7 separate regions of the Homo sapiens genome follow, and regions 2, 3, 4, 5, 6 and 7 are each linked to region 1. Evidence: promoter capture Hi-C in 16 types of primary human blood cells and fetal thymus (Javierre and others, 2016). All regions are on one chromosome and are shown on one strand. Each heading gives the region's core, a stretch centred on a gene start or on the middle of the fragment in contact. The rest is flanking DNA. Distances are from core to core; before and after follow the strand shown. Region 1 holds the start of RHAG (Rh associated glycoprotein). Region 2 holds the start of CRISP1 (cysteine rich secretory protein 1). Region 3 has its middle 39 kb from the start of CRISP1. Region 4 has its middle 21 kb from the start of PGK2. Region 5 overlaps MMUT (methylmalonyl-CoA mutase). Region 6 has its middle 4.2 kb from the start of PGK2. Region 7 has its middle 17 kb from the start of PGK2.

The links. Contacts are between HindIII fragments. The CHiCAGO score rates a contact against its expected background, and 5 or more counts as called.
Region 2: a contact is called between a fragment that was not itself captured here and the fragment with the promoter of RHAG in region 1, in 3 of 17 cell types (megakaryocytes, erythroblasts and endothelial precursors). The highest score is 13.2, in megakaryocytes.
Region 3: a contact is called between a fragment that was not itself captured here and the fragment with the promoter of RHAG in region 1, in 2 of 17 cell types (erythroblasts and megakaryocytes). The highest score is 29.6, in erythroblasts.
Region 4: a fragment that was not itself captured here is called in contact with the fragment with the promoter of RHAG in region 1 in 2 of 17 cell types (erythroblasts and megakaryocytes); the score reaches 10.4 in erythroblasts.
Region 5: a contact is called between a fragment that was not itself captured here and the fragment with the promoter of RHAG in region 1, in 1 of 17 cell types (erythroblasts). The highest score is 5.3, in erythroblasts.
Region 6: a contact is called between a fragment that was not itself captured here and the fragment with the promoter of RHAG in region 1, in 2 of 17 cell types (erythroblasts and megakaryocytes). The highest score is 8.8, in erythroblasts.
Region 7: a contact is called between a fragment that was not itself captured here and the fragment with the promoter of RHAG in region 1, in 2 of 17 cell types (erythroblasts and megakaryocytes). The highest score is 23.9, in erythroblasts.

The regions. Positions count from the first base shown.
Region 1 is chr6:49,635,255-49,638,255 of GRCh38, forward strand. RHAG (Rh associated glycoprotein) reads right to left here and starts at 1,585. Exons shown (of 10, transcript NM_000324.3): 1 at 1,402-1,585. The coding sequence starts at 1,558. The HindIII fragment of the contact is 2,886 bases long and covers 541-3,001 here.
Region 2 is chr6:49,866,499-49,869,499 of GRCh38, forward strand. It overlaps CRISP1 (cysteine rich secretory protein 1), which reads right to left and starts at 37. Exons shown (of 8, transcript NM_001131.3): 1 at 1-37. The HindIII fragment of the contact is 540 bases long and covers 1,259-1,798 here.
Region 3 is chr6:49,825,556-49,828,556 of GRCh38, forward strand. No RefSeq gene overlaps it. Among named protein-coding and RNA genes, the nearest start is that of CRISP1, 39 kb to the right of the region's middle. The HindIII fragment of the contact is 2,934 bases long and covers 1-2,894 here.
Region 4 is chr6:49,806,800-49,809,800 of GRCh38, forward strand. No RefSeq gene overlaps it. Among named protein-coding and RNA genes, the nearest start is that of PGK2, 21 kb to the left of the region's middle. The HindIII fragment of the contact is 1,609 bases long and covers 601-2,209 here.
Region 5 is chr6:49,458,052-49,461,052 of GRCh38, forward strand. MMUT (methylmalonyl-CoA mutase) reads right to left here. Exons shown (of 13, transcript NM_000255.4): 2 at 1,031-1,454; 3 at 1-7. The coding sequence starts at 1,415. Among named protein-coding and RNA genes, the nearest start is that of MMUT, 3.7 kb to the right of the region's middle. The HindIII fragment of the contact is 2,992 bases long and covers 1-2,746 here.
Region 6 is chr6:49,790,020-49,793,020 of GRCh38, forward strand. No RefSeq gene overlaps it. Among named protein-coding and RNA genes, the nearest start is that of PGK2, 4.2 kb to the left of the region's middle. The HindIII fragment of the contact is 4,478 bases long and covers 1-3,001 here.
Region 7 is chr6:49,768,577-49,771,577 of GRCh38, forward strand. No RefSeq gene overlaps it. Among named protein-coding and RNA genes, the nearest start is that of PGK2, 17 kb to the right of the region's middle. The HindIII fragment of the contact is 4,649 bases long and covers 1-3,001 here.

The DNA of each region.
Region 1 (3,001 bases), core at 335-2,834:
TGATACAATTATTAAGCTCTTAAAGTCTTAAGATAACTTTATTTAAATCATATTAATCTTAGATCATATTTTTGGCATTTTTAACATTGTATTGCATCTCTTTGTTTACAAGTGTATCAGATAGTGGAGTCTTAGAATAAAAGAATCATATTTGTTTTATTTTTTAATAAATTTGCTGTAGCACATGCTTAGTGCTTAATAAAATATGTACTAAATGAATAAATGGATGAATGAATGAAATGTACAAAAGCATACATAGATGAACAGAATTTTTTCTGTTTTATTCTCTAACTTGCAAACTATAAAACTTATTTAATCAAGAACCCTCTCAGACATCTATGCAGTGTAAAGACAGCTAGACTTGGAGTCTAGTTTTCTCTGTCTTATTACCCTAACTCTGTCCTTAGCTTTCAATTTTATATTTTTCCTATGTCACTTAGCAACTCTAGGCCATTATTTCTACATGGGAATACCCCCATCATATTAATTCCCTCAAAAAATGTTGGAATAAAAAAAAGGGTGTCAAATTGTTTTTTAAAAAGCTTAGACATATGCTATGAAGTATAATAAACATTATACCATTTTAAATAATTTTTAAATTTTTTAGATTATTTGAACCTTACTTAAGAAAAGCAAATAGTCTATATAATAGTGACATACTACTGTCTTCCTTCCTGGCTAATGAGGTAATGGATGTGTTGGTTTATAATAAGGACGCAGTAAATGGTAGTTATTGTTATATTAACTATTTTACAGCCTACCCTTCCAAACTTGAATTAAATTTCTCTCTTTGCTCAATCATCATTCCCAAGGAAGGATTTTGTTTTTAAAATATGTTAAGTATTCACACATTTCTTTTCATCTCAAAGTAACAAACCGACTTCCTTTCAGAATATTGTAAAACTCTGAGTACACTTTTTTGATTAAAACTCCATTAACTTCCTACATCATACTAAATACCCCTTCTTATTCCTTAGGGTCCTCACATGAAATCTAGGGTTCCCTTCTTATAACTCCATTCTTAGAACTCTCTCTCCTCCAAAGTTACCTTTGGCCCTTTCAGTGGGGAATGCAAAGGAAGCGTGATACTTTTCTTTGCAGAACTAGTGACCAACTGAAGGAAAAAGGTCATTTAGCAGTAGATAAGCAATACAAAAGGCATCAATTATTTTAATTTTCAGCTTCTTGTTCTGATATTTTAATAGGAAAAAGTTCCAACCAAGCACCTTAATCACAGAGAAGAAGACCAGATGTCACATCACAAACATGTAATATCCTTAGCACTCATAACCATCATATAATTCTACAAAGAGCTCAAGGGTTTATAGTATTCAATTGTTTTACATTCTGAGAAACCGAAGAACCGAAAAATGTATAGTAAGTAGTAAATTGCCTACTCACGAGGATATAACTCAAAGAATATGCCCATGTCTGTTGGCTTGGTGATGTTGAGCTGCTCGAGAACAGTCTGGTCCGTTTCATACTCAACAAATAATCCAAATAAAACAATCATGGCAATTTCCAGGACTATAGCCATGAGAGGGAATGTGAACCTCATGTTTGTGGCAAAGGACAGAGGCACACTGAGAGCTTCACAGGCTGTGAGATGTTGATAAGAACAAAGGACTGCTCTGTGTGTGGAATTTGACTGCATGTTCAAGGCACCCCAATGACATCACAAGAAAAAAAAAATGGGCAAGACTGATTAAAATGCCCCACCCATTGGGGAAAATTATGCTCTGTAATCTAATTGTCGTTCTAAATGTTGATCTGAAGAATATGCAATGAAATTGTGAGAACCTGGATGATGCCAACAATCTATTGCACAGGCCTCTAGAATCATGTTTAACTTAATTCAGTAGACATTTCTTGAGGGCTTATTGTATACCAAATATTGTGGTAGGCTTTGTAGAAGGCATGAATCTAAAGCAATATATATAATTGGTCTGTTAACTTCTTGAGAAAATTAAGAATCTAGTTGGGAAAACATAAATATAAGTGAATGATTATATAAAAACAAATATGTGATATAATAGTGGTTATAAAAGTATTATAAAACATAAATAAGGCAGTGAAACTTTTTGCCTTAGGCCAAGAACATTAGCATATAAAACAATATGGATGTGAGAACTAGAACATAAATAGGGTTTTTCAAGTAAAACAGATAAGAGGGAATGATATAAATCTTGGAAGAACATGGCATGTTTTGGAAACGGCAATCAGTCAAGCAAAGCTGGAATGTAAAAGAGATGAAGAGAAAAGGAGGAAGTGGCAGAGATAATGTTGTCATGGAGGTGGCTGTGTTGTAAAGACCCTCACATTCAGTACCGAGGATGCTAGATGCTAAATATTATCCCATGAGCAATGGGGAATATATAGGACTGTAAGCAGTTTTATGTACTTATGAAGTTTTTGACTCCTTACTCTGATTTACGCAAGTGAAAATATGGAAATACACAAATGAGTTGTGATATATCTTTTAGTCTTAAATAGGAAGAGAGTAAACTTAAACAGGAACATAACTAATCTATCATCCTTATAGATAGTCAAGTGTAAATAAGATGCTAAGCAATTCAAAACTACCATATAGGTGGAGGAATTCTTGTCTCCTCTTTGGAATTGTTCTCATGGCAGAATAAACCTGTTTTTGAGAACTAAGAGCTACCAGTTAAATACAATTTCTTTCATGAAGCCCAATTTCCAAAAGATTCTATGCAGAATTTGGAGAGAGAGTGCAACTGACTGCCAGGATACATACATTGTAATAAATATTTATAAAACAAAGCAGCAGGATTTTTTGGTCTTTCTGGTATGATTTTCCACAGTAGAACATGATATGTTAGGACTAAGTGATATTTGAAATTTTATAAATATACAGACACTTTGAAAAATGACTATTTCCATTATTCGTTACAGCATAGTACAAGAGGAGTGGGTTCACATGCTTAGCTATGAAAATACATGTGTACATCTCACACTTTAATTTTTGGTTTTGCAGCAG
Region 2 (3,001 bases), core at 279-2,778, 230 kb after region 1:
CTTTTAAATGACAGTCCACAGGGGAGATTTGTTCAATGAGGTAGTCAGTACAAGGTAAATGCCTATAACAGATCAAGGGATTTACGGTGGACACCAGGCATGAATACATGATAATCAGAACAAATCTAGAGTCTGTGAAGATTACAAATCATGATTATGGGGACATTTCTAGTTTGTAACCAAGGCAACATCATCAATGGAACTCACCAATTTTAAACTTTTACCCTGGGAACTAACTGCAAAGATTAGTTGCATGATTCAGCAGAGCCACAATCAGATAACAAAGGTCACTGTAAGGGAAAATGACTTGCTGGTCCAGAAACTTCTCAACTTTATTAAATTCATTCAGTAATTATTTATTGAGGTCTTAAGATGATTTATGCTCTCTTCTAGATGCTGAGGATACATAGAATCACCAAACATATAAACTACACAATCTTATGGAGTTTGGTAACTGTTCTATAATGTGTCACATACTTGGAGAGGCTCTGGGAATGAAAAGATAAGTAGTCCATTTTCCTAAGACCTTCCTGGTTAAAAGGAAAACTTCTGCAATTTGGGAGAATTCTAATAGAGATTTGTCCAGAAACAATGTGGAAGCAACTAACTACCTTGAGAGGTCTAGAAATACTGAACACTAAATTGTAAAACACTAAAAATTCCAGAAATCATTTGAGTCACATGATGAGAAATATCACAGGACACTTAGAACAAAGAAAGAAATATCACACAGACAGAAATCACATATGAGAATAGAAAATTTACTCTGAAACTAGGTGTAATCAGATGTTTTTGAATTGTCTTATTATTCTGAAAAGTTGGGAAATGTTTGTATATGTGAGTGCATGGTCGCTTATATTGAAGTCATAGCTTGCTGGCCTCTTTTTAAAATTATGAATTAAGTCTTTGTTCTTTGTAAGAAAGAATACATTATTATTTAATAAAAAATATTTTTCTTGTATCTTGCTTAAGAAAGGGCAATTGAATATCTAAAAGGAAAGAGTAAAAATAAGGTAAGAATTGTGTAGTCATAAGTTATTTTGTGTTAGTTCTGGGGTGAGGGTTAGGAAATAAAAATTAAAAGAAAGATCAGAGTCTCTTAAGATAGAACTTTCTGGTCTTGTTAAAGTATATAATGAATGTCCAGAAAACCATCTGCAGGAAAGGAGAACTAAACATCACTAAAAATTGCTCACCTATACCTAGAAGAATTTCTCTTTTGGTTGAGGGAGATGGTGTTAATCTAAAAACATAGAAAAGCTTATCTGTAAACTCTTTCATAGATAAGATGAATTATCTTTAGCTTAACTTTAATTGGCTTTAAAGAATTTTACATGATCTTGAAATTAACACTTCCAAATTATTGAGCAACTTTCTCCAACAAACTACATTGTAAAAAGAAAGCTGCAAAAGAATGCTATTACTTCACCAAACCAGCATGGTTTATATATTAGAAATGTATAATTGTCATTTATTTCTTGCTAAACTGCTGTTTATAAAGGAGAGTGTTGATTCAACATCAAGTCAAGTGTTTATGGAAACTTAATTGCTCTGGTTTTATCTGTTGGTCCTGGCAATTCCTGGCATTGCTCTACCCAACACAATGCTGTCTGTATTTATAGCACTGATGTCTTCATATAGAGTTGCTATCCAGCTTCATATATGGTTTTAAAAGAATTTGGGAAGTGTTGGAAAGCAAGGAATAACTTGATTTGCATGTGAGTCCCAAACATGGGTGCCAGTTGGCTGTTTCTGTTCATAAATTTCCTATTTTCATAGATTGTTCTCTTTCTGTTTAAGCTTTTTAGCATAGTAGGAAACTATCTACAATAACTTTTTTCCCTAAAATAATAATCTGACACATTTATCTAGCATATCATAACATGATAGAATATTTCTAACTGGATTATCCCAGAAAAATCTTGAGAGATAGATAAAGGCTAATGTGTTTACAATCACATCATGTTTGTCTGAATATATCCATTTTTAAAAGAAACTTTAAATCAATCATTTACTCAGAGATTGGCTAACAAAAATTTTAGAAAGCCCAGATATATAATACATGTTGAAGGAAGCATTCATGTGTTAAATGTGATTTTAAAATCATATTTGTAAAATAATTTTGCATATATTCTGGCTGTGGCTTTATTCTAATTATCCACTGGACACAGACATCCTCTCCTTTCCCTTCACTTTCTCCATGACTGAACTCTTACCTACAACAATCCCATTTGTGTCTCATTGCTTCTTCATACCACTCAGTAAAATTGTGCTTATGCTTCAAAGTCCTGTATGTTGCAAGGGCTCAATGACTCCAGACTTGCTCAGAAACTCAGGCCAAAAAGTACTCTAGACTTTAACAAATTCAAACTTATGTTGCACATAAAATAAAGCCAAAGTCAGTTTCTGAATTTGAATTTTAAGAACCCTGGGAGATTAATGGCCCTTTGAAATTTCCCCCCTCTTCTTCTACAATTTATAGCTTTCATAATCAGAATGAAAGTCAATATACATTTATCCTTCTATTCAACTTTGTTTTAGTTGTCTACTTCTCATAATAAATAATCCCAAGGCTCAATGATTTAAAGCAATAAATGTGGTCTCTTGGTTTCTGGGAATCAGTAATTCAAGGATGGCTTGACTGAGCACATTTGGTTTATGGTGCCTCATTGATTGCAATCAGTTGTCAGTTGAGGCTGCAGACATTTATATCTCTGATGGCTTTCCTGCTTCCAAATTGATTTACTTATATGACTTGCAAGTTGGTGCTGTTTGTTGGTGCGAAGCCCTAGTTGCTCTCCAGATTGGCCTTTCCACAGGGCTTCTGATTATCCTTATAACTTGACAGTCACCTACCCCTGAGCAAATGATGCAAGAACACAGGAGAGGCTGCAATGCCTTTTATGACATAGAGTGAGAAGTCACACACTTTAATATTCTATTGTTCACAGAGTCTAGCTCTAATTCGATTAACAAGAAGACCACACAAGAGCATAACTAC
Region 3 (3,001 bases), core at 178-2,677, 190 kb after region 1:
ATTATTCTATGAACTAGAGATTATTATGTTAAGTGAAATAATCCAGGCACAGAAAGATAAACATCACATGTTCTCACATTTGTGGGATCTAAAAATCATAGCAATTGAACCAATGGACATAGATAATAGAAGGATGGTTACCAGAGGCTGCGTAGGGTAGTTGGGGGTTGGGGAGCAGGTAGGGGTGGTTAATGGGTACAAAAATAGCTAGAAAGAATGAATAAGTCCTACTGTTTGATAGCACAATAGAGTGACTATAGTCAATAATAATTGTACATTTTAAGATAATTTAAAAGAGTGTAATTGGATTGTTTGTAACTCAAAGGATAAATGCTTGAGGAGATGAATACCCCATTCTCCATGATGTGCTTATTTGACATTGCATGTCTGTATCAAAACATCTTATGTACCCCATAAATATAGACACCTACTATATATACACAAAACATAAAAATCAAATAAATAAATAAATGAAAAGAGAAAATAGTTTATAGGGTAAATAATATTTGATAAATTATCTTACTGTAAGGGGAAAAGTAGAAAAATAGATCCTCAGCTAACCTAAATTATTTTTAAAAATATTATAATATATGAAATATGTTGTAGGAAAGAATTCAGGAGCAAAGAAAACTGCAGGTCCAGGAGTTTCTACGAGTACATGCTCATGTAAAGGGGTTTATGGAAGAAAAGTTAAGACATTTTTAACAAACAGATGAAGACTACTAAAGGAGGTGAAAACCTGAAAGATGAATATTAATATACAATTAATAGCAAATGGGTAACTTATGACCATATTTAAAAAAAGCTCAAATTACTTGTATTTGTTCAAAACAAAATGGTTTGTGCATTAAACAGATATTATTAGATATTGCTTGTTGAAAATATTACCATGGTTCAGATTATACTGGAGAAATCCTTTGTTGTTTCTTTGTGGCATTGTTTTATCTTTTAAGTTATCTTTTCCAATAGACTGTGTCCATATTTATATTAGTGGTACCATCAATAAATACGCTACCTTCAGCATTTTAGAATTTTCTGAAGGCAACTGAAAAGCAGGAGCTTGACTCGCGAATGATCACATACTGTAGGTGCTTCTTCTTCGTATATTTGCAATTTTTATACAGTATAGATGCTGAACTATAACATTCCATATAAGTAGTTTGCAAATGCGCTTGACAGAGTAATAATTGTTTTAAAGAAAATAACAAAGATTCATAACAAATAGAAATAGACAATACTAATAAAAGGATGCCTCAAACGTTTAGTTCTTTATTGTTCAGTTGAGAGCAACTTCTTGACAGAATTTTTTCTATCGAGAGGGTTTACACATACCATATGCCATAGTGATTTGTCAGCTTACAAATATGTTTCATAGCCCTGAACCACAGTGAAGAACTTTTTACCCAGATTTTAAAGCCCCACCAATTAGAAGAATTGCTTGTGATATATATAGCAGGTCAGGAAACCTCTGTTTTCTTGCATCTGTAGATAATTGACCTGCTACACGGCGAACTTAAGCAAAATCTTAATTCATTCAAGCAAAAAAATGCAGGTTCACTTAGTGGTAGGGTAATGGCCAAGATAGAGGAGCCACATTCTCTCAGGTCCTCCTTCTTAAAACTGAAAAACTTGAGCATACATAACAAACAAGCATAGGAAGACTCTAGAAGTGAAACTAAGAAAGCAGACTGTGTAAGGACCTTGGACTTGAGTATCAGCATGAAAATGACTTCTCTGAGTTTCCTTTTTGCTTCCCATATATACTAGACAGAGCACTGCAGAAGTCTCAACCCCAGAACCACTAACAGGATCAGACAAAAATTAAAACAAACAAACCGAAACAGAACAAGGGAAGCCTGCTCAACTCAGCCAAAGGGTTAAGAAGGGTGAAATAATAAAAAAGAAAAAAATTTTTAGCCATAACTGTCTGACTCCAGACAGACAATGAAAAGACTGTCCACAAAATGCTTGGAATGGCTTCAGTAGAACTCAGCACAGGGGCCATAACACCTTACAAACTTCTGAAAAATTAAAGCCAATGAAAAAATTTAATAGAGAGAAACAATATATAACTATGGAGGAATAACAATTTTAGTGACAGTAGATTTCTCTTCTGAAACCACAGAGTTCAGAAGAGAGTGGCGTGCTTTACAAATGCTTAAAAAAATGATTAATCCTGAATCCTATATCCGGTGAAAGTATACTTCAGGAATAAAGGGAAAATAAAGGCATTCTCACATAAAGAACAGTCAGATAATTTATTTGTAAGCCTACTCTTAAAGGAAGGCTAAAGGATGTTCTCTAGATAAAAATTAAAAGAGATGATAAGAGAAGTTTTAAAAATTCAGAAAAGAAAATATCAGAATGGATAAAAATGAGAGTTAAATACAAGAGACTTTTCTCTTCATGATTTTCTTAAAATATTTGTTGGTTGAAGCGAAAATTGTTACACCACACATGGTGATGTTTAGTATATGTAAAGTTAGTACTTAGTATAAATATATTGTTAAAGTGGGAGGGAAAGGTACCTAAATAAAAGTGAGGTTTCTACCCTTCACTCTAAGTGACAAAATATCAATACAAGTAGACTGATAATTTAAGTATATATATAGTACACACACACACACATATATATGTAGAGTAACCACTAGGAGAAACTATACAAAGTGATACACACATTAAAATTAAAACACATTAAAAATGTGCAAATAACTCACAGGAAGGCAAGAAAAGAGAAACAGAGGAACAACAAACAGAGAAACAAATGAAAATAAATAATATAAGGCCAACTTGAGCCTAAATATACTAATAATTTTAAAAAGCACAAAGAGAGAAAATGGTGGAGAGAGTATCAAGATGGATCATGATATAGTTCAGTAAAAAATTGAATTTGAAGCTTGGCCAAAGTGAGAATTCTGCTATGATAACATCATTTAATACATTATATTTAGATATGCACGTGGATACATTTTCAGTGATAGTCATCACGAGAACATCGGGC
Region 4 (3,001 bases), core at 155-2,654, 170 kb after region 1:
AAATGACCTGATGGAGCAGAAAAACACAACAAAACTTCCCAGTGCAATCATAAGTATCAACAGCCAAATAGGCCAGGTGGAGGAAAGAATCTCAGAGCTTGAAGACTGTCTTTCTGAAATAAGACAAGCAGAAAAGAATAGAGAAAAAAGAATGAAAAGACATGAACAAAACCTCTGAGAAATATGAGATTATGTAAAAAAAAAAAAAAAAAAAAAAACCTATGACTGATTGGAGTACCTGAAAGAGACGGGGAGAACAAAACCAAGTTGGAAAACATACTTCAGGATATCATCCAGGAGGACTTCAACCTAGCAAGACAGGCCAACATTCAAATTCAGGAAATCCAGAGAAGTCCGGTAAGATACTCCATGAGATCAACCCCAAGACACCTAATTCTCAGATTCTCCACGGTTGAAATGAAAGAAAAAATGTTAAGGGCAGCCAAAGAGAAAGGCTAGGTCACCTACAAACGGAAACCCATCAGACTAACAGCAGACCTCTCAGCAGAAACTCTGTAAGCCAGAAGAGATTGGGGGCCAATATTCAACATTCTGAAGTAAAAGAATGTCCAACCCAGAATTTTGTGTCTGGCCAAACTAAGCTTCCTAAGTGAAGGAGAAATAAGATTGTTTTCAGACAAGCAAATGCTGAGGAAGTCCATCACCACCAGGCCTGCCTTGTAAGAGCTCCTGAAGGAAGCACTAAATATGGAATAGAAAAACTGTTACCATCCACTACAAAAACACACTGAAGTACACAGACAATGACACTATGAAGCAACTGCATAAATAAGTCTGCAAAATAACCAGCTAGCATCATGGTGACAGGAACAAATTAACACATAACAATACTAACCTTGTATGTAAATGGGCTAAATGCCACAATTAAAAGACACAGAATGGCAAACTGGATAAACAGTCAAGACCCATCAGTGCGATGTATTCAAGAGACCCATCTCACCTCATGTGCAAACACACACAAAGGCTCAAAATAAAGGGATGGAGGAGAATTTAGGAAGCAAATGGAAAACAGAAAAAAGCAGGGGTTGCAATCCTAATTTCTGACAAAACAGACTTTAAACCAACAAAATTCAAAAAAGACAAAGAAGAGCACTACATAATGGTAATGGGTTCAATTCATCAAGAAGAGCTAACTATCCTAAATATATATGCACCCAACACATAAGCACCCAGACTCACAGAGCAAGTCCCTAGAGACTTTCAAAGAGACTTAGACTTCTACACAATAATAGTGGGAGCCTTTGATACCCCACTGACAATATTAGACAGATCATTGGGACAGAAAATTAACAAAGATATTCAGGACCTGAATTCAGTTCTGGATTAAGTGCACCTGATAGATATCTACAGAACTCTCCACCCAAATTCAACAGAATATACGTTTTCTCATTGCCACATGGCACTTACTCTAAAATTGATCACATAATTGGAAGCAAAACACTTCTCAGCAAATGCAAAAGAACTAAAATCATAACAGCCTCTCAGACCACAGCACAATCAAATTAGAAACTCACTGAAAACCACACAACTACGTAGAAATTGAACAACCTTCTCTTGAAATACAAATGGGCAGTCATTAACCCTTAAAGTTTCAAAATGATTTCCTTTGACTCCATGTCTCACATCCAGGTCATGCTGATTCAAGAGGTGGGCTTCCATGGCCTTGGGCAGCTCTGCCCCTGTGACTTTGCAGGGTACATCCCCTCTCCCAGCCGCTTTCACGAGCTCACATTGAGTGTCTGCACATGCTCTCTTGCCTGCCACCATATAAGATATGCCCTTGCTCCTCCTTGGCCTTCTGCAATAATTGTGAGGCCTTCTCAGTCATGTGGAACTGAGTCCATTAAACCTCTTTTTCTTTATAAATTACCCAGTTTGAATATTTCTTCGTAGCAGTATGAAAATGGACTAGTACACATACCTCAAAATAATAACAGCCATATATGACAAAACCACAGCCAATATCATACTGAGTGGGCAAAAGCTGGAGGCATTCCTCTTGAAAACTGGCACAAGGCATGGATGCCCTCTCTCACCACTCCTATTCAACATAGTTTTGAAAGTTCAGGCCAGGGCAATCTGGCAAGGGAAGGAAATAAAGCATATTCAAATGGAAAGAAAGACAGTCAAATTATCTTTGCAGATGACATGATCCTATATCTAGGAAACCCTATTGTCTCAGCCCAAAAGCTTCTTAAGCTGATAAGGAAATTCAGCAGTCCCAGGATACAAAATCAATGTGCAAAAATTGCTGCCATTCCTATACACATCAAGAACAGGCAAGCGGAGAGCCAAATCATAAATGAGCTCCCATTTACAATTGCTACAAAGAGAATAAAATACCTAGGAATACAGCTAACATGGGAAGTGAAGGACCTCTTCAAGGAGAACTACAAACCACTGCTCTGGGAAATCAGAGAGGACACAAACAAATGGAAAATCATTTTATGCTCATGGATAAAAAGAAACAGTATCATGAAAATGGCCATACTGCCCAAAGTAATTTATAGATTAAATGTTATTCCCATTTAACTACCATTTTACATTCTTCACAGAATTAGAAATAAACTATGGAACCGAAAAAGAGCTCATATAGCCAAGATAATCCTAAGCAAAAAGAACAAAGCTGGAGGCATCATGCTACCCAACTTCAAACTATACTACAAGGCTACAGTAACCAAAACAGCATGGTATCAGTACAAAAACAGACACATAGACCAATGGAACAGAATAGAGAACTCAGAAATAAGACTGCACATCTACTACCATCTGATTTTTAACAAACCTGACAAAATTAAGCAATAGGGAAATAATTCCCTATTTAATAAATGGTGCTGGGAGAACAGGATAGCCATATGCAGGAAATTGAAACTAGATCCCTTCCTTACACCTTATGCAAAAATTAACTCAAGATGATTTAAAGACTTAAATGTAAAACCCAAAACTATAAAAATCCTAGAAAAAAATCTATTTCATTTAC
Region 5 (3,001 bases), core at 1-2,500, 180 kb before region 1:
TGACCAGCTAAATATATAAAGAAAAATAATGTAAGATTCAAGAGTCTGGAATCAAGGTAAAATGATTTACTTTTAACACTACTAAAAATGTTGATTCATCTCATAACAGTACACTTTTATAACAACTATTTTTATGCTCATACATGTCAAAACCAACTTAAATAAAGATACTTCACTTCTTAAGAGAGTCAGTTGTTTCCCTTGTGCCAAAATGCACAAATTTAGTTCCAGACCTCACTAAAGGAAAGAATGGGAGAAACAACAAATCTCAATCATCTCGTATCTATCTGAAGATATGGTACTTGATTGAAATATTTCTAAAATTCATGAAAAGATCTGGCTGTTCATATATGGCAAAAATAACTTAGCATTTGTATGCTTGCTTACTATTTTGTTCTTTTATCTAATATGGTCACAAAGGATTCCTGGCTATTCAAATATTCTGGAAAACAGAATTATGACCATCGTACAAAATTTTTAAATAACTAAAATAGTCTATACTAAATGTAAGTTCAACCTTCCATGGGCAATACAAACTTATAAATCTACAAGTTTAGTATTCAAACAGTACAATTTTATTACAGCTCAGAAAGAAGAAATAATAGTTAAGATAATTTTCAGTGAATGAATGCCAGGTTGCACTGAATATGTTTGTACCACGTTATCACATTTACACTTTCTTTGGGCATCATCTAAACTATCTTCCTCTCCAATCGCTATCCCAACAATGTTAATTGAACATTTTTCGAAGGCAAAGCTAATGTCTTCTTTTCTTCATGCAACTTTACCTCACCTAATTCCTTTTAAACAACGTGCATGTGTTGTTTTCTTTCAAAAATTTAGCACCTTATTCTAATTCACTTATCTTTTTGACCACAGAAGTTAAAAAAATCCACTTTTTTCAGAGTATAGTCTTTAACTACAAAATTATAGAGTGAATATCATCTTTACAGAGATTAACCCCCAAAAAATAAAAAACTAGGAGGCATATGACTTATCATAAATATTATGTCTTACATTAAAATCTCACCCTTAATGTTGTCCTTATAGAACTTATTGCTTTCTTCCACAGTACTAAAACCAGCATACTGGCGGATGGTCCAGGGCCTAAAGGTATACATGGTAGGATATGGTCCACGTGTGAATGGCTTCACTCCTGGAAGTTCTTCAGGTAAGTCCATAGTATCTCTCTTGGAATACAAGGGTTTTATAGAGATCCCTTCCGGGGTGTGCCATATTAGGTCTTCTGGGTTTTTGCCTTTCAGCTGCTTTTTAGCCAGGGCAGCCCATTCTGGGTGAAGGGGCTGTTGCTGGTGTAGAAGTCGTTGCTGTATGAGCCTGGAGCCTGATGATTCTTTTACCTGCCTCAGGTAATGAGGTGAAAGTAAAAAAAGCTGATTCTTAGCTCTTAACATGGTGGAGCATGGAAACACCCAATAGAAATAAGAACTGACCTAGAAAAAGAAACATAGAGTAAAAACATTTAGAAGAGGGGGTGGGAAATAGGAGCTACTCATAAGAAAGGAACAGAAAAGAAAGAGGATGTATTAGTCTGATTTCATTTCTTCCCCTTTTCTGCTTCCTGCACCTGATATTTTATAACTTTGGCCCCTCTTCTTCACAATTACTATCAGTCCTGTAGTTTCAGTCTTTTTCCTCAGTAGCCTCTTAGCTGGTCTTACTGACCAGTCTTACTCCTTTTCTACTCCATTCTATACGAATCCCTTCCATACAATGACATCAATGTAAATATGACTATGTCACACTCCTCATGGAATTTTTCAAAGACTCTGTATCATGTGGAAGATATACTACAGCCTCCTAATTAATTTTTTCATTCAAAGTGCTTTTATTAAATATCAGTTTATGACCGACATTATGTTGGGTAATAGAGAAAAAAGTGATGAATAAGACAAACAGGCATTCAAGGCCTTCATGAACTGGTCTCTGTTTCCCCCTCAGACCCATCTCTGTCTTTGTCCTCTTTATGCATTTTGTGCACTAGAAATACTGGATTACCTACAGTTGGCTGCACATATGTCAAAGTTTTCTGAATTTGCTCTTGCTCTTCCTTCTGCCTAAAATGTTCTTCTCTGGCTAATTCAGCTAAGGCATTATCTCCAATTTGCAGCGTTTCTATGTGCCAGTAACATAGAAGGCTATAAAGACATCACAGAGAGTAGCAATTTTAATCTTTACAATACCCCTAAGAGGTAGGTACTATTATTATCCTTATTTTACAGATTAGGAAACTGAGGCACAGAAGAGCCAGCATTGATTGGAACCTATGCAGCCTGTTTCAAAGTCCTTGCATTTAACTAATATGCACACAATTCATCCCAGAACCCATAAGGTGAGCTAAATGGCCTCTTCAATAATCTACTTCTGTGCTAGTTTATAAACTGCTCCAACATTAGAGCTGCATATTCCGGATAACTAGCATAGACTTTTATACTAGGTTGCTGGGTTCAGCGTCATCATTTTCCAGATGTAGAAACTGAGGCTCAGAGAAATAAAGTCGCTTGATCAAAATCCCACCTCACAAAGCCGTAAACTGTTTACCTGAATTACTAAAACTTGTCAGAGTCATACAGCGTAAACATATAGAGCCCATTGTTTAAAAAGATATTGAGATGCAAACATTAATATATTCACTATACTATGTGTTTTATACTGGATAAGGCAACAAGTAAAGGGAGTTTCAAATTTTATTTTCCATACCACTTCTTACCTATCAGTTTAGTAAAGCTTAAATGAAATCAATACTCAACACTTATTATGGGGTCGTTAAACAAGAGACATAAACCACTGGTGACAGTATTAACTATTTTAACTACTTTGGAAAGTAAATTGTCAATATACATGAAATGCTTCAGAAATGTTTATGCCATTCCACTGAGGAACATTACTCCTGGGAAAGCTTCTGTAGTAATATATAAAATAGATGTTTCCTATAGTTTTATTTGTAATAGAGAAAACTTAGGAAAATCGTAAGTATCTC
Region 6 (3,001 bases), core at 344-2,843, 150 kb after region 1:
TTAAGGACTCATTTGATTAAGTTGGGCCAAACTAGATAATACAGGATAAACTCCCTAATTAAATACTGTGATATAATTATATCTGCAAAGTCTCTTTTGTCATGTAGCATCAGTATTTACAAGTTCTGGGGAATAGGACATGGACATCTTTGGTGGGCCGTTATTCTGCCTACTCAAACAGGATTTTGATAAACGCAAATATTTTCAAGCTCTGTTCGTAAGAGGGCAGAGAAGCAGTGACTTATAAATAAATAAGTGGGGGTGGGGGAAAGGACAAAACTTCTCTACAGAGGAATTCCAAATAATGTATGTAGACACATTCCTCTACTAGAGGTGGAGCTTAATGGACTGTTTGAATGTAGTGATAAATAGATTCTGAGTATTCAAATTACTATTCACCATGATTTACAAATACTAGATTTGAAAGACCCAAAAGGAAAATATACTCTTCTGTTTTGGCACCTTTCTGTAAAGAAGATTTGCAGTGTGCTCTGCACTGAGCTAAACCACAAGGGCATTTTGTCACCACTTCCCCAAGATCTGTCTTCATGTAACAGCATCAAGCTCTGAGGACCTTGTCTTTCAAAATTAAAATCCTGTTACCACGTATCATCCCACATAGAGGCTGAAATGTCTTCTTGACTAAATCCAGTTTTCATCTATGTTCACAGTATCAATGTCTCTACGTTCTCCTGTTCTTGGACAGGTTTTCCAGGTTTTCTTTATGCAAATGTCCTCTGTTTCTCTCCAGGTCTTTTAAGGGCTGCTTACTTAGCTACTAGTATTTGCTCATGGTGGTGACTGATTAAAGTCTATGATGGAAAGATTTCATTATAGGTTATCCATTTTCTTTGAAAATTGAAACATGTTATGGATATAATCTATTATTCTTTCTATTAGGAAGCCTGTGAAATATTTGGGGCAGTTTACCTTCAATTCACCTTTCCATTGACAATGATTGTAAAATATGCAAATATATATTCCATACGTTATGCAGAGTTCTGGGTGCTGAAATGACTAATAATCTATAGGTATGTATATTCTCATGTACATATTGTGTCATTTTAGTCACTAATTTTTAATATTTCGAAACACACCAATCCTTCTTTTAACAATTTAAAAACAATTTTTAAATTGTTTATGAATTTGTAAATGTCCCTATTAATAATAGCAGCAAACTTCAATTTATGCATTTGAAAATGTTTCCATGAGTTTTTGGGATCATTGTAAAAGGTAGACTAAGGTGGCTGTATGGTGCTATCTCTCCCTTTCAATGGCGAAAACCGCTACTCTTGCGTCAACCTAATATATAACTTTTTACACAGTGCAGAATTAGTTTGAAAACAACATAATAATTCACACGATAACATTATGTATGAATTAGCCAATGCATTTCTTTTAAAGTATACTTTTTTGCATTTGTTCCTCCATCTACTTATCTATTCTTCTTTTTTTTCTTTATTATTATTATTATTATTATTATACTTTAAGTTTTAGGGTACATGTGCACAATGTGCAGGTTAGTTACATATGTATACATATGCTATGCTGGTGCACTGCACCCACTAACTCGTCATCTAGCATTAGGTATATCTCCCAATGCTATCCCTCCCCCCTGCCCCCACCCCACAACAGTCTCCAGAGTGTGATGTTCCCCTTCCTGTGTTCATGTGTTCTCATTGTTCAATTCCCACCTATGAGTGAGAATATGCGGTATTTGGTTTTTTGTTCTTGTGATAGTTTACTGAGAATGATGATTTCCAATTTCATCCATGTCCCTACAAAGGACATGAACTCATCATTTTTTATGGCTGCATAGTATTCATGGTGTATATGTGCCACATTATCTTAATCCAGTCTATCATTGTTGGACATTTGGGTTGGTTCCAAGTCTTTGCTATTGTGAATAATGCCGCAATAAACATATGTGTGCATGTGTCTTTATAGCAGCATGATTTATAGTCCTTTGGGTATATACCCAGTAATGGGATGGCTGGGTCAAATGGTATTTCTAGTTCTGGATCCCTGAGGAATCGCCACACTGACTTCCACAATGGTTGAACTAGCTTACAGTCCCACCAACAGTGTAAAAGTGTTCCTATTTCTCCACATCCTCTCCAGCACCTGTTGTTTCCTGCCTTTTTAATGATTGCCATTCTAACTGGTGTGAAATGGTATCTCATTGTGGTTTTGATTTGCATTTCTCTAATGACCAGTGATGGTGAGCATTTTTTCATGTGTTTTTTGGCTGCATAAATGTCTTCTTTTGAGAAGTGTCTGTTCATGTCCTTTGCCCACTTTTTGATGGGGTTGTTTGTTTTTTTCTTGTAAATTTGTTTGAGTTCATTGTAGATTCTGGATATTAGCCCTTTGTCAGATGAGTAGGTTGCAAAAATTTTCTCCCATTTTGTAGGTTGCCTGTTCACTCTGATGGTAGTTTCTTTTGCTGTGCAGAAGCTCTTTAGTTTAATGAGACCCCATTTGTCAATTTTGTCTTTTGTTGCCATTGCTTTTGGTGTTTTAGACATGAAGTCCTTGCCCATGCCTATGTCCTGAATGGTAATGCCTAGGTTTTCTTCTAGGGTTTTTATGGTATTAGGTCTAACGTTTAAGTCTTTAACCCATCTTGAATTAATTTTTGTATAAGGTGTAAGGAAGGGATCCAGTTTCAGCTTTCTACATATGGCTAGCCAGTTTTCCCAGCACCATTTATTAAATAGGGAATCCTTTCCCCATTGCTTTTCTCAGGTTTGTCAAAGATCAGATAGTTGTAGATATGCGGCGTTATTTCTGAGGGCTCTGTTCTGTTCCATTGATCTACATCTCTGTTTTGGTACCAGTACCATGCTGTTTTGGTTACTGTAGCCTTGTAGTATAGTTTGAAGTCAGGTAGTGTGATGCCTCCAGCTTTGTTCTTTTGGCTTAGGATTGACTTGGCAATGCGGGCTCTTTTTTGGTTCCACATGAACTTTAAAGTAGTTTTTTCCAATTCTGTGAAGAA
Region 7 (3,001 bases), core at 165-2,664, 130 kb after region 1:
AGAAGATTAGAGTCCGCTGGCAGATGCTAACGTTGTACCTAGTCAAGAACAATTGGTAAATTTCCAGGATTTGGTTCCATTTGCAAGGGAGTTGCTAGGATTCTTGTTATGAAGAGAAGAGCAATGCTTAAGTTCTCCATAGAGACTCTATGCTCAGAAACTTCCTTCCTATTCTATGACCTTTGATAAGATTGCAGTAATAAGACGTAATGTCTCCCTATAATTAGTCTGATATAGTGGTTCTCAACCCTATCAGATCCAATGCTTTCTTCTTATCGTAAATTTTAAATACCACTCCCTGACAGACATTATTCTGGAAATAAATGCAGGGATAATAATATATCCTTGACTTCTAGAGTGTGCAAAGCCCTGAGAATATAGTTTTTGTGGTGCCTCTTTTTATTTAAACTACTTGACTTACCTAAAATCAGCAAGTAAGCAGAGTCCTAGTGGCCCAATATTATTTAATCCCGATAAAACACACACACACACACACTCACACACACACACACACAGGCAGTTGGGAGTGATCCACTCACAGGCAGCCTACTTGGAACTGAGGCCTTGCCACAAAGGCTGAGACAACCTATAGATTCAATCATGATGCCTTTGGGGGCAACTAGATCCCATGTATGGAGCAGAGATTTGGACAGCAGCTCAAAGGGGGAGAAATGGAGACTAATAGCCACTCAAGTCCTAGACTTTGCTTGGAGCACACTTCTAGGACAGTACCACTGGCCCCAGCCTATCCCAGCCACAGAAGGGAGACTTAGATATTTTCAAGAAAGGTACTTTAAATAAAAGCAGTCCCCTGAGATTCAGATATAGGGGCAGGGGCCCTGCTTGCTAAACATTTTTTTTTAAGATTGATGTTAATAACATAATATATAACATATATTATCTGTTTTCTAATCCATCCCTTAACATGGATACACAGTCCATGCCCGTTTTATAGTAACCATGGAGAGTTACTATATATTATGTAATATATGTTATATATTATGTTATTAACTAATATAATACTAAGAACAGTACTGAACATTTTTTAAAAGAGTGATGTTAATATAATATATAATATATAATATATAATTTAACAGAGAAATTAAATGAAAGTAATTCGTAATATGTTACATATACTTTAATTCAAAAATTTTGTTCTACAACTACACCAGAAAATGTAATGAAATTCTCAGATACTTACAGCCTCTTTTTATGAATAGATTTGTATTTAACAACATAAGAACATCACAAGCCCTTATTTACAGGAAGTATAGAAAATAAAAGAACAGAAGTATAGACAGACACCAGAAAAAATAGGATTAGTATAGTTAGAGACCAGACATATTTGTATATGATAAGAGAAAGAGGGAAATAACCTTAAATGAATTTGCGATTACATGACAAAGCAAATTAAAGGTTGATAAATTGAAAAAATAAGGAAGTAAGAATTTCTTGTAAATGAGCTCAATGTTATCTATAAATGCACTGATAAAATAACTCCTTGGACAGTAATTTGGGTCCCGGTGGATTATTGTACTTTGGAATGATTCCCTTGAAAATTTCTAAGTCCTATTCTTGTGGCTGAGACCAACTGGGTCTACAGTGACATGCAGAAAATGTTGCCCATGCCAAGATAGGTACCTACATGGGCTCCAGTACCCATTTCTCCTCTTTAGATTGCTCTTCAATCCTGTATATATGGGGTGAAATTGGTGAAGATTCACAATAATTATATCTGCTATACTGAATTTCTAGCACATATTCAGGCATACTTTAAGTTACTTGCATTTAAAATAAACCTGGAGACCACGTTCTTCAAGAGGCAGTAGGGAATATAGGACAGATTTAAAAAACAGTGATTTGAGAGGTTGTAGAGGAATTATGTAATCTGCTGTTGAGGAGAGTATTGAAAATGATTGAAGATTGAAAATGGTACTTGACTCCAAAAAGACTACCTGTGTTGTGTGGTAAGAAAGTTGGAAGGGGCCGATGACTTCAAAAAGGAGGTAGTGTAGTGCGAAGTTAAAAATATCTCCCTATTTCCTGGTTTCATCTGTCTCTATGTGGATGGTAGAATCAGAGATTCAGTAGAAGGGTGTCTGACAGTCTATTAAACCATTTTCACATTTTGCTTTCAAACTCTGTGCTTTCCCAGGAATTGTTTAATTAGTAGCATGCTGTTAATGTGTAGTATTCACTGCACATTTGAAAATAGTGTGGATTATATTTATAATCAGAAAAAAAGTGTTTTTGCTTACATAATTTGTTTTTACCAAATGAAAATATCTGAAGAACCAGAGGGACCACAAAAGAGAAATCAAATTTGTCTTCAGAATATAATTAATTTCATGACATTTATTACTCCACTTATTGAATTATTATAATTTCTAGTTATTAAAAATTCTGTGAGGAAATAAATTAAAAAATAGGTTAGTTTGTGCATGTCAATCATATATTTGTTGGCTTATTTTTTTTTCAGTTGAACATGGTTCTAATCTTGTTGTCCCACTTGTTGATAATGTTCTTCAATCTGAAAGTCTCATGATTCTTTGGACCACAGTCATAAATCATTAGTATTTTTATTTTATTATTTGTTTTAGGTTATGTTGATGTTGATTTGGCTTAATTTTTATTTTTATTTTATTTTATTTTTTATTATACTTTAAGTTTTAGGGTACATGTGCACAACGTGCAGGTTTGTTACATATGTATACATGTGCCATGTTGGTGAGCTGCACCCATTAACTCGTCATTTAGCATTAGGTATATCTCCTAATGCTATCCCTCCCCCCTCCCCCCACCCCACAACAGGCCCCGGTGTGTGATGGTCCCCTTCCTGTGTCCATGTGTTCTCATTGTTCAATTCCCATGTATGAGTGAGAACATGCAGTGTTTGGTTTTTTGTCCTTGCAATAGTTTGCTGAGAATGATGGTTTTCAGCTTCATCCATGTCCCTACAAAGGACATGAACTCATCATTTTTTATGGCTGCATAGTATTCC